Linked DNA regions of Homo sapiens: region 2 is linked to region 1. The links are contacts of gene promoters, found by promoter capture Hi-C in human tissues and cell types (Jung and others, 2019). All regions are on one chromosome and are shown on one strand. Each heading gives the region's core, a stretch centred on a gene start or on the middle of the fragment in contact. The rest is flanking DNA. Distances are from core to core; before and after follow the strand shown. Region 1 holds the start of GABRG2 (gamma-aminobutyric acid type A receptor subunit gamma2). Region 2 overlaps GABRG2 (gamma-aminobutyric acid type A receptor subunit gamma2).

Region 1 (6,840 bases), core at 2,473-4,972:
ATTCAGAATGAGCACTTAAAAGTAAAGTTTAGACAGATCATCAAAAATTCAGTCCATTTTATTTCTGCTCAATTTATCCTTGAAAAATAATTATTTGTCACTCTAAGTATATTACAAAATCTTGTTTTATTCTAATAAAATAAAAACATTTTATGTTTCAGTTATTCTTATTTACTCTAAATTATTTTTTATGTTTTTCTATATATTTTTTTCCCTTTAGGGTATTTTTACTCTGAGATGGAATAAAATTACACTGAAAAAGTTTATAAAGTTATAAGATTTGTTTTAAAATCTCTATGCATATATATGTGGTATATATATAGTTTTTCAATATAATCACATACACATTTATATATGTATATATGTTTTATTTTTTTGGAGCCAATATCTTCTTATAACTAATGTTGGTGTATTCTTTATACTATTCCTTATGCTTTGTTATATGTATAATATTCTCAATGATTTACATACAAATAAAAGATTGAAGTTAAATTGATTCATTCTGCCCAACTGAATAATAAAGTATGAATAATCAAAACACCTTTAAATATTAAATATGATGATAAACTTTTGGAAATCAGAAAAGTATAGACCACTTTTCTTCAAAGTGAGGTCTAGGGTACTTGTTGAAAATACTCCTGTTGAATATTCCTTTTCTCCCCAGACATAATGATTCAAAAGCATTCAGTGTATAGTGTAGGAATCTCCATTTTAGTAAGTTCCCCAGGTTATTTTTTATGACAGCACAAGCTATGTGAATGTTTCAAAAATTTTGGGTTTCAGAAATTAACTATTTCACTTATAAGAAGAGATATTAGTTATTAATATTCTCACTACGATGCTTTATTTTTCTCTTTGTTTCACTTTTGTAAAGACATAGACTAATAAATTTTGTCACTTAATGAGGGCGAAAACAATCTTTTGAGTTACATAAATAAAAAACCAATTTTTTTTTTATTTATCTTTAACTTTCTAGGTGGTTCTGCTACTACTGTCTACCACAAAAGTATTATTTCATAAGTACCACTTCCTATGGACTCCTCATGTCTCAAATATTTCCCAGTTATTTATTGTCCTTCCTCAGGATCAACTTTATAAATCAAAGCTTCTATTTACCTCCAGTCCTACTCAACAATTCAAATGACTTTTTTTATGGGATTGCAGCAGACTGAAACTCTGATCACATTCTCTGCACCAAACAGCAATGACTCCATTCTCTGTCACTATGAGAGAATGTAAAAATTACCACTTTTGGGAGTTTCCATTACAGATAGCTCATATTTATAGAGCTCTTTTAAAAAACTCATCTAAGATAGTCTGGTACAAATTGAAAATTAAAATGTATCATCAAATTTACTTTGTATAAGACATTGAAATGGAAAAGGTGGGGCTGTGGCAACAAGAAGACATCTTAAATACTATTTTCTTATAAACTATAGTAAAGTTAAACATGTTTAGGTTAAAATAGGGTTACTGGAGAGAAAATACATAATATTTTATCTATTAAGTTAGACAACTGTTTACTAAGATGGAGATGAGTCAAAAAGAAAGACATTCCCTTGTGTCTTGTCTAGATTTTAATCCACAGGTTTCATTAATGGTAGAAATAGGGGAAAGATATTTTCTTTTAGTAAGTAACTGTTTTCTAATTTCCGAAACAAATTAATAGCTATCCACAACCTTAAGTATAAAAATGAATTCAAATTTTGAATCAAAAAATTACTTTTTTCAGGATTTCACCAAATTGTATTACATATAAGACTGTTTCCAGTAAAAGGCCCTCTCATATTCTGAGAAAGCTACTGAAATGTTATAATCCTAGTGAAAATACATTCTATTTTTATAGTAAATTAGTAAGGTACAAAAAGTGCTGGAAGAGTTAAGCAGACCCTCTCTCTGTTTAGAAACTCCAAAGTGAGGCTTTCACTCTTTGTTTTGCCTGGGTCTCTTTATCATAAATCTATCTGTCTTATTACCCATCTTACAGAAGAGGGGGCCAGAGAAGTTGCCTAGTTTCAATAATTTTTTTAAAAACTAGTTTAACCTCCATCCTTTTCAGCTGCTTTTGTTACAACTACCATGTAAGATTGTCGACCCACAAAAAAATGTTAGGGCACTGTCTTGATATTTTCTATAGCTAGTTTTTGTTTGTGTCTTTCTTTATATTGGTAGGATATGAGAGGTATATTTATAGAACTTTATTTCAAAATGAAAGTATAGAAGAATGCAAGTAATGTAAATAGTGGACCTCTAACATGGCTTTGGTCCTAGTTAGAAAGCTTGGAGAGCGGGGAAGGTGCTTAGGTAGGTAGACGAATAGTCAGCTAGGCTGCATGGATGGTTGCTCCTCTAATACTCTTAGCTCAGGAAAGTTCAAGTAAATTTAAATGCCGGGCACTTCAGGGCATACACATTCTCAGGGTTTTCAGGAGTCCAGTCTCCAGCCTTACCTTTTTTTTTCTATTCAGTGCAGCAAGGTTTTAAAACATTAATGTGTACTTCACGATTATGGCATCACATTCACCTGGTTCAGCATATTTTCCAACACTGCAGCAAGGCCAACTCTTTTCCAGACGTATATTCCCCTATGCAATCATTTAACTACGTTCTCCACCCTATGCCCAATAGTCCCCTTCCCATATCAAGGAGGGAGTAGAGGTAAACAGATCAGGATCTGTATATTTCATTAGTGCCCCGTGGCTTCATTGGCCTTCTCTCTGACTCTGTGGATGCCCTGAGTATATTTAGAGACGTTCTATCAGGTTAGACAAGCCTCTATCCCTTTGGCCCTCACCAGGACTGCTGTCCCTGGTGCTGAACCATGTTTGCACACGGGTAGTTGGCTGTTGGGTCAATGGGACTGGATGCAAAACCTGGCTGACTGACCTTAAGAATGCCAGGTGCAGAAGCATGCGATGCCTTAGTACACAGGAACAGGGCCGCCCGCCGCCCCTCCCCCCAGCTCCCTCACACATATCTCTCCGGTGTGCGCCAGGACCCATTTGTAAATTTCTCCATCAGACCCCCACCCAAAATGCTTGCAACACGGCCTCAAATGCCGGCGTGTATCAGCACAGCCCACTCCGATATCAGATTGCAATAATGTCAAAATGCTACTCCCTAAATATTTAGTCTTTATGAGGTTACCTTTTCCACTCTAAAACCAAACAAAAAATAAAATAAAATCCAATAAATGAATACATTAACGAAAGTGACCTTCCACTTTCCTCCCTCCAGTCCCCGCCCCATATATTCGCTCTCTCCTAAATTGTAAAGCCGCACATCCTAGGAGAGTGTTTTAAATCTGGGTGGTCTCCCGAGTTACCCCTCCCCACACCTTCCCCCCACCTCTTCAGAACAAAACGACGCCAAAAAGGGCACATCTTACCCAGGGTAGAGCGACAGCAGGAGCAGAATCCACACCGTCATTTTCTGTGAAAATACAGGAGTCGAGTAGACTGAGCTTCCTGTGCTCCATATATTTGGCGAACTCATCGCTTTTTTTTTTTTCCTTCTCTCGCCTCTTGCCTCTTGGTTGCAGAAGAATCCCTCCCCTTTGTATTATTCTTATGCTTATGATCTGATGGTGGCTCCCCCCACCTGCCTCTAGTAGGTCCTTCACTGGGGAGATGGATTGCTACCAGATTAGGGAATTAATATTCAGGGGGCAGAGATAAGATCAGCAAAAACGCTTGCAGATACCATCAAAGCGTCACTCTGGCAGCGGCTTCCAAGTCTGGGGGAGTAATATCATCGAGGCAGGGGGAGGGTACAAGGAGAGACTCATACGGAGACAAATAAGGGAGAGGGAAAGACACGCACACTCGTGTATACTCATGCCCCTCACACTTACGCGTTCTCCCCTGGGTCCATCTCTTTGGGGTTATTTATTTGTTTGTTTTGATTTTTTTTCTTTTACAGGGGGCAGAGCCCTGTGGGTGTGTGTATTTAAAATAAATAGGAAAAAAATCACTAGAGACTCTGCGTGATTAACTATCACGCAGATTAACTATGAGGTCAAAGTGGAAGTGATGCACGCTGCTGCAGCACGAATTAACACATGCGTGGTGTCTTTCCAAAGCTTTTTAACCCTTTACTGCACACACCAGCATGCAAGGACTGGCATTCATGGGGACAAGAGATGCTTTAGCAAGCCCAGAAGCTACATCATCAATGACAGAAGGTTTGTGGTCGTCAGATCTGCCAAGAATCCTTATTTTAAACTCGTACAGTCTTAGAAATCATGGTTGCATTGTTAGAGCTGGGGGAGCAGACAGTGGGGGAGGTGTGAGTGTCTCAGTAAGTCATCCTGTAGGCAGACAGATTTGGTGAATTCAATTTGAATGAGAGAAGAAAACATTGATAGAATTAAAGGACATGGAGAAATTCTATGCTACTCAAGATTCATTCCTCCCTTGTCAGTTCTCCAACCCCAGTGAAAATGCACAGACACAAAACTGCTTGAAGTTTGACAAATGTAATTGCGTGGGGATAGCTGCTTGAATAAAGATTACACATCACAAAATAGGAGGGCTGTTTTTTGAAGGAAGGGTGGGCAGAGGGGTATAATCAGGAGGTCATTTAACAATGCAAAGGGATTTCTGTTTGTCATGTGGGGGGTTGATTTTTTGTTCTTGGTAATAATCCCGAAAGTTTTTAGTTTGGATGAGTGGTATTAGTATGCTTCTTTCTTGCCTAGAATGTTACTATAGATACTAATATGTAGAAGATACCCCCTTTATGCCAAACCAGTTCATCCACCACAGAGGAAATCCCTTTCATTAATCATGAAAAATAAAGTGGGGGAGTGTTTCATGGTTCTTTAAAGTCAAGATACCACATTGAAAGTATGCAGGAAGCAGTAGTAGTGATGAGGAACAATCTTAGCTCTTTGTGGAAAGTGACAAGGAGTTGTTTCAAAATAAGTGCCTTTTTTGCAAGAAAAAAGTCTTCCAGGAATGGAACTTGGGTAAGGAGTCTAGGAGACATAGGAATAGAACATGAGAAAATCAGGTCCACACTCCATCACTAACACTAAAGTATATCCAAGGAAAGCAGAAAGAATTACCAGTGGCTGCTGCCCATCACATGGGCTGAGGAGATGCATCCTGACAATGAAGCAAAAAAGTCCTGACAGACCCACCTGGAATCCTGCATGGCTTCATAATTCTGCCTTAGGCAGAGTTATTCTTAAGGCATTTAGACAAAAATCCAATGAAAACCACATTCAAATGCAGTTTTGACTTCTTTCCATTGTGACTAAAATGGAGGCAGAGCAAACATAATCCCCTTTTTATATAATGCTCTTGTTCTTTGCTGCACCGTGAAGGTATTTTCCCCTTCTTTGATTTTTACTTATTTGTTTATTTATTTAATTTAGTGACAAGGTCTTGCTCTGTGACCCAGCCTGGAGTACAGTGGGACAATCATAGCTCACTGCAGCCTCGAACTCGTGGGCTGAAGCAATCCTCCTACTTCAACCTCCTAAGTAGCTGGGACTATAGGACTACATCACTATGACTGTCTAATGTCATGCCCCTTCTTATGTTCACAATTTTTATTCCAAAGAGCCTAGTTTGTTTATAGCTCTATATATTTTCTTAGTGAAATTATTCAATCACACTTTTGTAGGCTAAGATGTGTGTGTGTGTGTGTGTGTGTGTGTGTGTATGTGTGTATTTACTTAAGTGCCTACAAAACCCAAGCAAGTGAGATAAATGGAAGACATTGGCAGTTTATGAATCAGTAAAGTGGTGGAAACCATGCACACTGAAGTGCCAATACTCCATCCAAATGGAGCTGCCACTGTTCAGTTCCAGTCAGAATTGCCAGAAGAAATGGAAATAAGAATTGCAGAATAAAATGTTCTAATTTTTAAAATGCAAAGGAGGCCAAACCAAGTAGGCATCCAGGCCACAAGGTTGCAATTTTTGCACACTATATAAAATATCTACCATACATGACATTTCCAATTTTTTTGTGTTAAGTTTCTCAAGTGAGTTTATTTATTGTCAAGCATAACGAAGCTGTGAAAATGAATGCTGTCACATTCACAAAGTACTGATTCATATACTAATCCCTTATCAGTCTTATAATGGCCCCTATAAATTAGAAGCTATTGAATGATGGAATTTTGTCCAGCATATTAAGAGAAACCATAGAGGTAATTTTACTATTTATAGTATCTGAGTACAAATTTAATTGTGCCATTCATAGCTAGTAGGTGTCAGTATGCCTCTGTGGATCTTTCTTATTTGCTGACTGCTGTCTGAAAAAAAAGTATTTTAATATATTTCCTAAGATTTTACAACATGTGTTATATTCATTGGTGTTTATAAGAGATCTAGTAATTACTTTTGTTATCAACTTTGAGGTAAACTCTTGCCCCTTTTTAAGATTATACTTATAATCAATAAAGTAACCTTTATTTGATAAACATGATGCTACCTTCTCATTGCACATAGTATATATGTATATATTATAGAGGAAATATATAATATATTTTCCTATCCGATACAAATTTTATGTCTGAGATCCCTATAACAAATGACAGATTAACAATAGAAAGGCATAAATATTTATTTCATACAAATTCTATGTGACATGGGAGCCTTTAGAAATGAAAGCTCAAAAGAAACAGGGAAAATTGTATATTTTATGCTAAATCAAATAAAGAAGTGGATAGTTGTGCAGAAACATTACTGGACAAAAACAGATATGATCTAAAGGGCATAAATGGGGGAACTCAGAGAGGCCTGCTAGTTCAGATTCTTCTCCATGTCTCTGTGTCTTCAGAGATAAAGACATTGTTTTTCTCCAGGCACAGGGAGGACATCCCTT
Region 2 (6,840 bases), core at 1,359-3,858, 48 kb before region 1:
GTCGCAAGTTTACAGTTCTAGTGAAGCGCGTAACACGGTGTCTTTCATATGTGAAATGCTCAACAAAAGTTGGCTTTAGCATCTGCGTCATCATCATCATCATTATCATCACCATATCATTACCAACACTACTTATCTGTGCATATATTAACAGTGGCAGATTTTTAGGACCAAAATATCTATTAGTACTCAATTATTCAATGTCAACCAATGAAATGGCAATTCTGTTTTGTACTAATTCAGTCTTGGGTAGAGGAGAGAACAGTTGCTTGGGGTCCCCTACACTTGTTAATTAGCTTTAGTTCTACTCATAACTAGCCATATGGCAATATTTTAAATTATTGTTAGCACTATGCTTCATGTACTTTATCTATAAAACAGAGGAACAAAATTAAGAATGCTTCATTAAAGAAAAGGTTAAATCGTAGCTCAATTGTTAAGATTAAATACAGGAAAAGATTTTAAAAGTTGCTTGAAACTACTCTTTTTGACAATATCTTCCTCTTACACAGGACTGTTAGAGACATTAAGGATTTTTTTTTTCCATGAAAAGAATAATAACAATCAAGACAATGTGACCTTTACATTATTTTGTAGCCATTCTTTATTAAATCATTTTCAATTACTTCCTCCTACTGACAAGGAGATGATTCTGGTTTATCGCTTCTTAGAAGTTAACACCGAATAATAACTGTAAAATTGAATTTAGTACAGGACCAATATTTTGGACTTGTAATTAATAAAGCTGTCCCAGCAGTACAACAAAGAAAATTTTGCTTATGTTTATAAAATATGACTGTTCCCATCACCCTACAATCATTTTCATGTTAATATCATGTGTTCTCACCTGCTCTTCTGAAACCAATTTTACATAAATTAGAAATCATGCTATAGGTCACTGACAGAGTGAGACAGTCTTGACCCAAAACAATCTCTTTTTGAGAGGATAATTCTCAGACAGACATTTTCATTCTTGGGCAGTATTTTCTCTGAGAGTATGGTATTCCTTTCTCTTTTTAAAAGTAACTTATCCTGGCACATGATCTTGGGATCTGAAAACCAACAGAAACCAAAACTGGCAAATCACAAGCCTGGGACTCTATTCCCCATTCACGTGATTAGGAATTCCTTTCAACCTCCCTAAGGTCTTTGTCAAAGTTATGGTCCCATATTGCAGAATTAAATGTCACAGAGTATTGCCTGCCCCACTACTTCTAGAGAAGACTCCATGAGATCTGGTGACTGGGCCCCTCCGACATGGCCAGGTAGGTGAGTCATGTATAGTATAAAGGATTATACTATTGTTAATTGTTGGTGACAGTTTTGTAATCCAGATATTTGCTTCCCCTGCCTACAAAGTCCATCCCTATAGAGGCCTTCCCTGGTGCCCCTTTGTGTGAAAGCATTGTGCATCTTATTCCATGGACATCAGGCTTGTTCTTGGGATTTGCTTTGGTCAGTAGAATGTGAGTCAAAATTACTTAAGACCCACAAAGCAGAGGTTTTAAGGACAATTTTACTCTTCTATTATTTCCCCTTTTGGCTATGAGAATGATATACCACAGAATAAAGAAACACTGGAGGTAGAACAATTGAGATTGTTCTTACTTTAATCCACTGAGATTTTGAGGGTTATTTGTTACCATAGCATTGTCTAGATTAAGCTGACCAATACAGACTGACTCTACCATACTTATATGCAATCAGCTTAAGATAAATAGATAAAGGATAGATTAGATAGATAGATAGATTGGTAGATGGATAGATGCCAAAACAATAACAGGAACATAAATTACACACTAGATAAAGAAATAGGGCCAAGAGTAATCCTTTCTGGAAACACACACACACACACACACACACACACACACACACATGCACGCACACCCCTTGGTGTTTAATTCATAATTGGAATCAGACTGTCAGTCAGGAAAGATGAGTGTCTATTCAGTAACTTACACCATGATATTGCACAAGGTTCTTACCCTCTCTGTCAACTTTTCTACAAGGTTGGTTGTACCTGGAAATTTCATCTGGAAAATGAGCATCATATTATGGAATGGCTGTGAAAAATGAATGAGCTGATGTATAGAAAGTGCTTCACAATGTTAGCACATATTGTCATTATTATCATTATCATTATTATTTTAGAGGTAGTGGTGTCATTATTATTTTGACTGCCGACTCACAGGACTATACAAGTTCAGCCAATTTATACAATTAAGATATTAAAAACAAAATAATAGGCTAATAAATTAAGGTCCTTTTATGCACTCTTGATGGCAAATCTTCTTCCTGTTTGAAGACCTGAGTATCTTTTCCTTCCTCTCTGAAAGCCATGTCACAGCCACTGTCCTACCTTCACCCCATCCCCAATTTCTCATTCACAGTAATTTCAGTTAGCATCCACCCTTGCTCCTCCCACTCATGGCAGGTCTATGTTTCCATGCTGAATTCATTTTATCAGACCTTAGCTAACTTATCAACCATCTCTATGGCAACACCCTGGTCCCCTTCCCTCACCTAAGATCTCCACACGGGACAGACAAAGTAAATCTGTTAATTTCTGAATGTGACATAATAAGAAAACATGATAAAAGTTTTGTTAGGAATTCTAGGGGACATAGAGAACGCAAATACCCACCATATGTTTGCTTCGTAACAGAGATGTTAAATACCAGGAAATATGACACAGTGTTTCAGGAGTGAAGTAAACCTTCAAAATCAGTCTAGTCTGATTTTTATTTGTTTTGAGATGAAGAAATTGCAGGTTCAAAGAGAAAATGACTTCCTTAAGGTCATTCAGCTACATGATACCACAACCAAAATGGAAACCTTTAAATGGGAATCATAGGGTATGCAGAGCTCTATACACAGCTGCCTCATTTTATCAAAGTAAGTAAAGAATAGGATTTTATTGCAGAACATTAACTATGTAGATCTTCAGAAAACTACAAAGGGACAAAGTATCAGTTTGATTGACAATGCAAGACTGCTAATGTGCAAGACAATGGCAACAAAGCAAAACGACAACAAAGCAAAACGGCAACAAACCAAAAACGGCAACAAAGCTTTTAGCTGCTTACATGTGAGTTGGAAAAGAAACTAAAAGACGGTGAAGACTACAGGCACAGATGTCCATATATAGAACTTTGCAATTTTATTTTTATTCAAAATCCATCTTCCATGAAAGTGGACAGTAGAGATAAACTGAATGAACTTAACATTGCTTATGTTAGATATTTATGATACATAAGCCCAGTTGCAGAATGTCAAAAGGTGAGATCTAGATTGACAAAATTCTGGCACTTCTTTGCAATTCACCTAATCTTTATTTTCAGGCAAACTTTGGTTAAGTCATAGTTTTAGCATTCATTTTTTAGAGTGTCATTTTGTGATAGAAAAATCCTCTTTGCCCTTTATTTATCTTATTTATTTATTTATTTTTGAGACAGAATTTCGCTCTTGTTGCCTAGGCTGGGGTGCAAATGGTGCTATCTCGGCTCACCACAACCTCTGCCTCCTGGGTTCAAGCGATTCTCCTGCCTCAGCCTCCCATTATCTTTTATTTTAAAAGATAAAATAATATTTTTCATCTCTACAGATACATATGCTATCTCATATTAATTATCTCTAATTTTCCCCATTTTTATAGCGATACACCTACACATTGCTTTCCAAAATATGAAAACAGTAACTCAAGAAGAAAACATAACTCCAAAAATAGGAAATAGGACAGGGAGTAGTAGAGACTTTGGTAAACTGGAGATTGTATTACCCACATGTTGAGACAGGTGATAATTCAGCTCTACATAATTATTTTTACATGGGAATGAGGGCTTTCTCAGATGTTTAGGATATAAGAATCTTTTAAATTTCCCATGAAAATTATCAGTTGTTTATTATTAGTTGAGAAATAAAATGAAATTTAACTCTGTCCATCCTAAAGACCCTGCTATAGGCAGGAGTCAAATAATGGGCTGTCAAAATTCAGAAGCTCTGACTTTACCTCTTTGGAGTAATTTCCCTGTAAGTGAAATTACAACTGGGCTTGGTCTTTAAGATTTAGCCCTAAAATTTTATTTTTATACCAATTCTACTTCACTCTTAGTCACTAATACTGGTAACAAGAAACCACCCATAAGGAAATGTGATCAGTAGGCGATTACAATTGGTGTCCATGATTGCATTACCTCTTTAACAAGGAACCGTTACACAGTTTGTGAATTACACATTGTCTTTGATACTACATAACTCTTCACCACTTAGCAATGAACAATAGATGTAATGATGAAAGTATATCATTGGTACATGGTGCTATTAGTCATGTGAGTATAGGCAGATTACAAATTATGTTTGGAAACTAATCCAGTAAACTCACTTGTCTAAACTGAAGCTTTCATCTTTGAGTCTTGTTGGCAATGTAACTTATTTATTGTACTCCAGTGTTTCTAAAGAAAGATATCATCTTATAAAGCTGCTAGTGAAGTGCTTATGGGCAAAACAATTAGGTTTGTAGTGGGCATGGAAGAAGAACTAATTTTAAGAGAATAGAACTTTTTAGTATATCTTCTTGTCATCATTGTGGAACATGGTGCACTGAAAAGAGTAGTTAATTTTGGAGTGGATAAATTGGAAAACAGAGAAATGTGAAAAATTAGACATCTATGATGTGTTTTTCTATGTTAACTGTAAAGCACTGTGAATTTCTTGAACAGCAGAGATACCCTTATACAAAAACAAACCAGGCTGGGCATGGTGGCTCATGCTTGTAACCCCAGAACTTTGGGAGGCCTAGGCAGATGTATCACCTGAGGTCGGGAGCTTGAGACCAAACTGGCCAACATGGTGAAACCCCGTCTCTATTAAAAATACAAAAATTAGCCAGGCATAGTGGCGTGCGTGTGCAATCCCAGCTACTTGGGAGGCTGAGGCACGAACTGGGAGGTGGAGGTTGCATGAGTCGAGATCTCACCACTGCACTCCGGCCTGGGTAACAGAGCGAGACTCTGTCTCAAAATAATAATAATAATAAAATAAAATAAAAAATAAAAGCAAACAAAAAAGTGACATTGTAAACCATGTTTAACATATTGGTCAATCCTTTTTCCTTGGGGTTTTACTATCTGTTTCTGTTTTGCTGGATGTACTACTAAAATTAGATGTTCTTGATCTCTTAAATGAAATGTATTACATGAATGGCAGGTGAAAATGGTAAATAAACTCTAGTCAGCCCCTAATCTGTATGCCCAGCAAATTCTTTTCTAGAATGTTGTGCAACACAATGTTGTGGCCTTCATAAAAATCTCCTTTTAAAGAAAAGAAGGTAAAATATTTTAAAAAGAATACATTTTCCTTATTGCTATTTGCTGCCCATTTCCAGTCTGTGATATGCTTAAAAGTGCGTATCTGCAATGCTGAATAGCATTATTTTCTGAAACTGCAAGAATAAGATGAAGGAATCATTCACTTACATCAAATAGGGTAAAAGTAATCTTCAATTAGTTTATGTGTAGAGTATCATCTCTGAAGGCTCAGTCTTCATTCTCTCACATTTTTGCATTTTCAAAAAAAAAATGTCTTTCAAATTTATTTTGGGGCAGTAGCTGTTTATTAGAGATCTATTAGTTATATCAGTCACACTGATGTAAATGTCTCTTAAATGTAGCAAAATAGGATTTTCAGCTGGGTTAGAAAATACCAACAACTTGGATTAAAAAAAAAAATGCTTTTTTGATCTGGTTGGTTTTGATAGACTGTCAAAAATATTAATCTTAAAATTTATCGTAAATAGTAGTCATGCAAACCTTTCATTATATATTCTCTCAAATTGATTTTTTTCAAAGAACAAGTTTTCACAAATACACTGGATTCAACAATTTTTGAATTACAGTCAGATTTGAATGGTCTTGTGCAGATCCACTTAACTTGTGAGTAGTAATGACCACTTAACTAGTAAATAATACTATCTCATAAGCAGTAAATAACTTTTATGAAAAATGAAACGATATAATTGCTAAATTAAGTTTCTCACTTTATACTTTTGCTGTATCTAAAGATAATTGGTATTCCTACAGGTTAACATATTGTTGATTCATATATATGGCTACCATATTAAGTGCTAATACTTCATTGTTGCATGTCTCTGTAAAAATAGCTATAATCAAGCTTAGGAATAGTTTTTATTTTAATTCATTTCTTTATGGAGTAAAAATTGTGGATCTGAATAAATAACTCTACCCATTGAATATCCTTGAACAAATAACTTAGCCCATCTAAACCTTAGTTTCCTCATCTATCAAATGGAAAAAGAATATCTTTCTCAGAAGCTTCTTGTGAGAAATAAAATACCATTGTGTATATTGCATAGATGCTAGAAAGTCATAAAATCCATTGTCCTTTCCTAACCCAAAATTGAGCTACATTTCCCAACCTCAGTTCATCTCTATGGGAATATGCAACTAGTTCTCGCCAATGGAACATAAGCAGAAATGACATGTGTCACCTTGAAACCAGACAATTTTCCTTTGATTTCACAGAACTTCTCTATGCCATCTCCCTCCGCCCCTTAAAAACTATCTCCCTGCTAGATAGTGTGAACACAACCTTGGAATTTAAAATCCAAATGTGTGATTTTTAACACAGCATACAAATGTTCCAGAATCACAATGGAAAGAAAATAGGTTATCATTTTTGGTTAACATTTTTGTTTAATGTGTATAATAACATATCACTAAGAACAAAATAGATAGGGGGGAAAACTGCTTCCTCTAAATTAAAAACCTAAACCCCAAGCAGTATGTTTTTGTATTTGTTTTGAAATTTTATTGAAAACTTGAT

Evidence for each region. The method cuts DNA at HindIII sites, captures the fragments that hold promoters and counts their contacts. A contact is called where the count stands out against the background at its distance.
Region 2: a fragment that was not itself captured here is called in contact with the fragment with the promoter of GABRG2 in region 1 in 3 of the 25 tissues and cell types used here (H1 embryonic stem cells, dorsolateral prefrontal cortex and hippocampus).

The regions. Positions count from the first base shown.
Region 1 is chr5:162,064,655-162,071,494 of GRCh38, reverse strand. GABRG2 (gamma-aminobutyric acid type A receptor subunit gamma2) reads right to left here and starts at 3,722. Exons shown (of 10, transcript NM_198904.4): 1 at 3,389-3,722. The coding sequence starts at 3,495. The HindIII fragment of the contact is 5,062 bases long and covers 1,693-6,754 here.
Region 2 is chr5:162,111,147-162,117,986 of GRCh38, reverse strand. All of the region lies in intron 6 of GABRG2 (gamma-aminobutyric acid type A receptor subunit gamma2), which reads right to left. Among named protein-coding and RNA genes, the nearest start is that of GABRG2, 47 kb to the right of the region's middle. The HindIII fragment of the contact is 8,232 bases long and covers 1-6,724 here.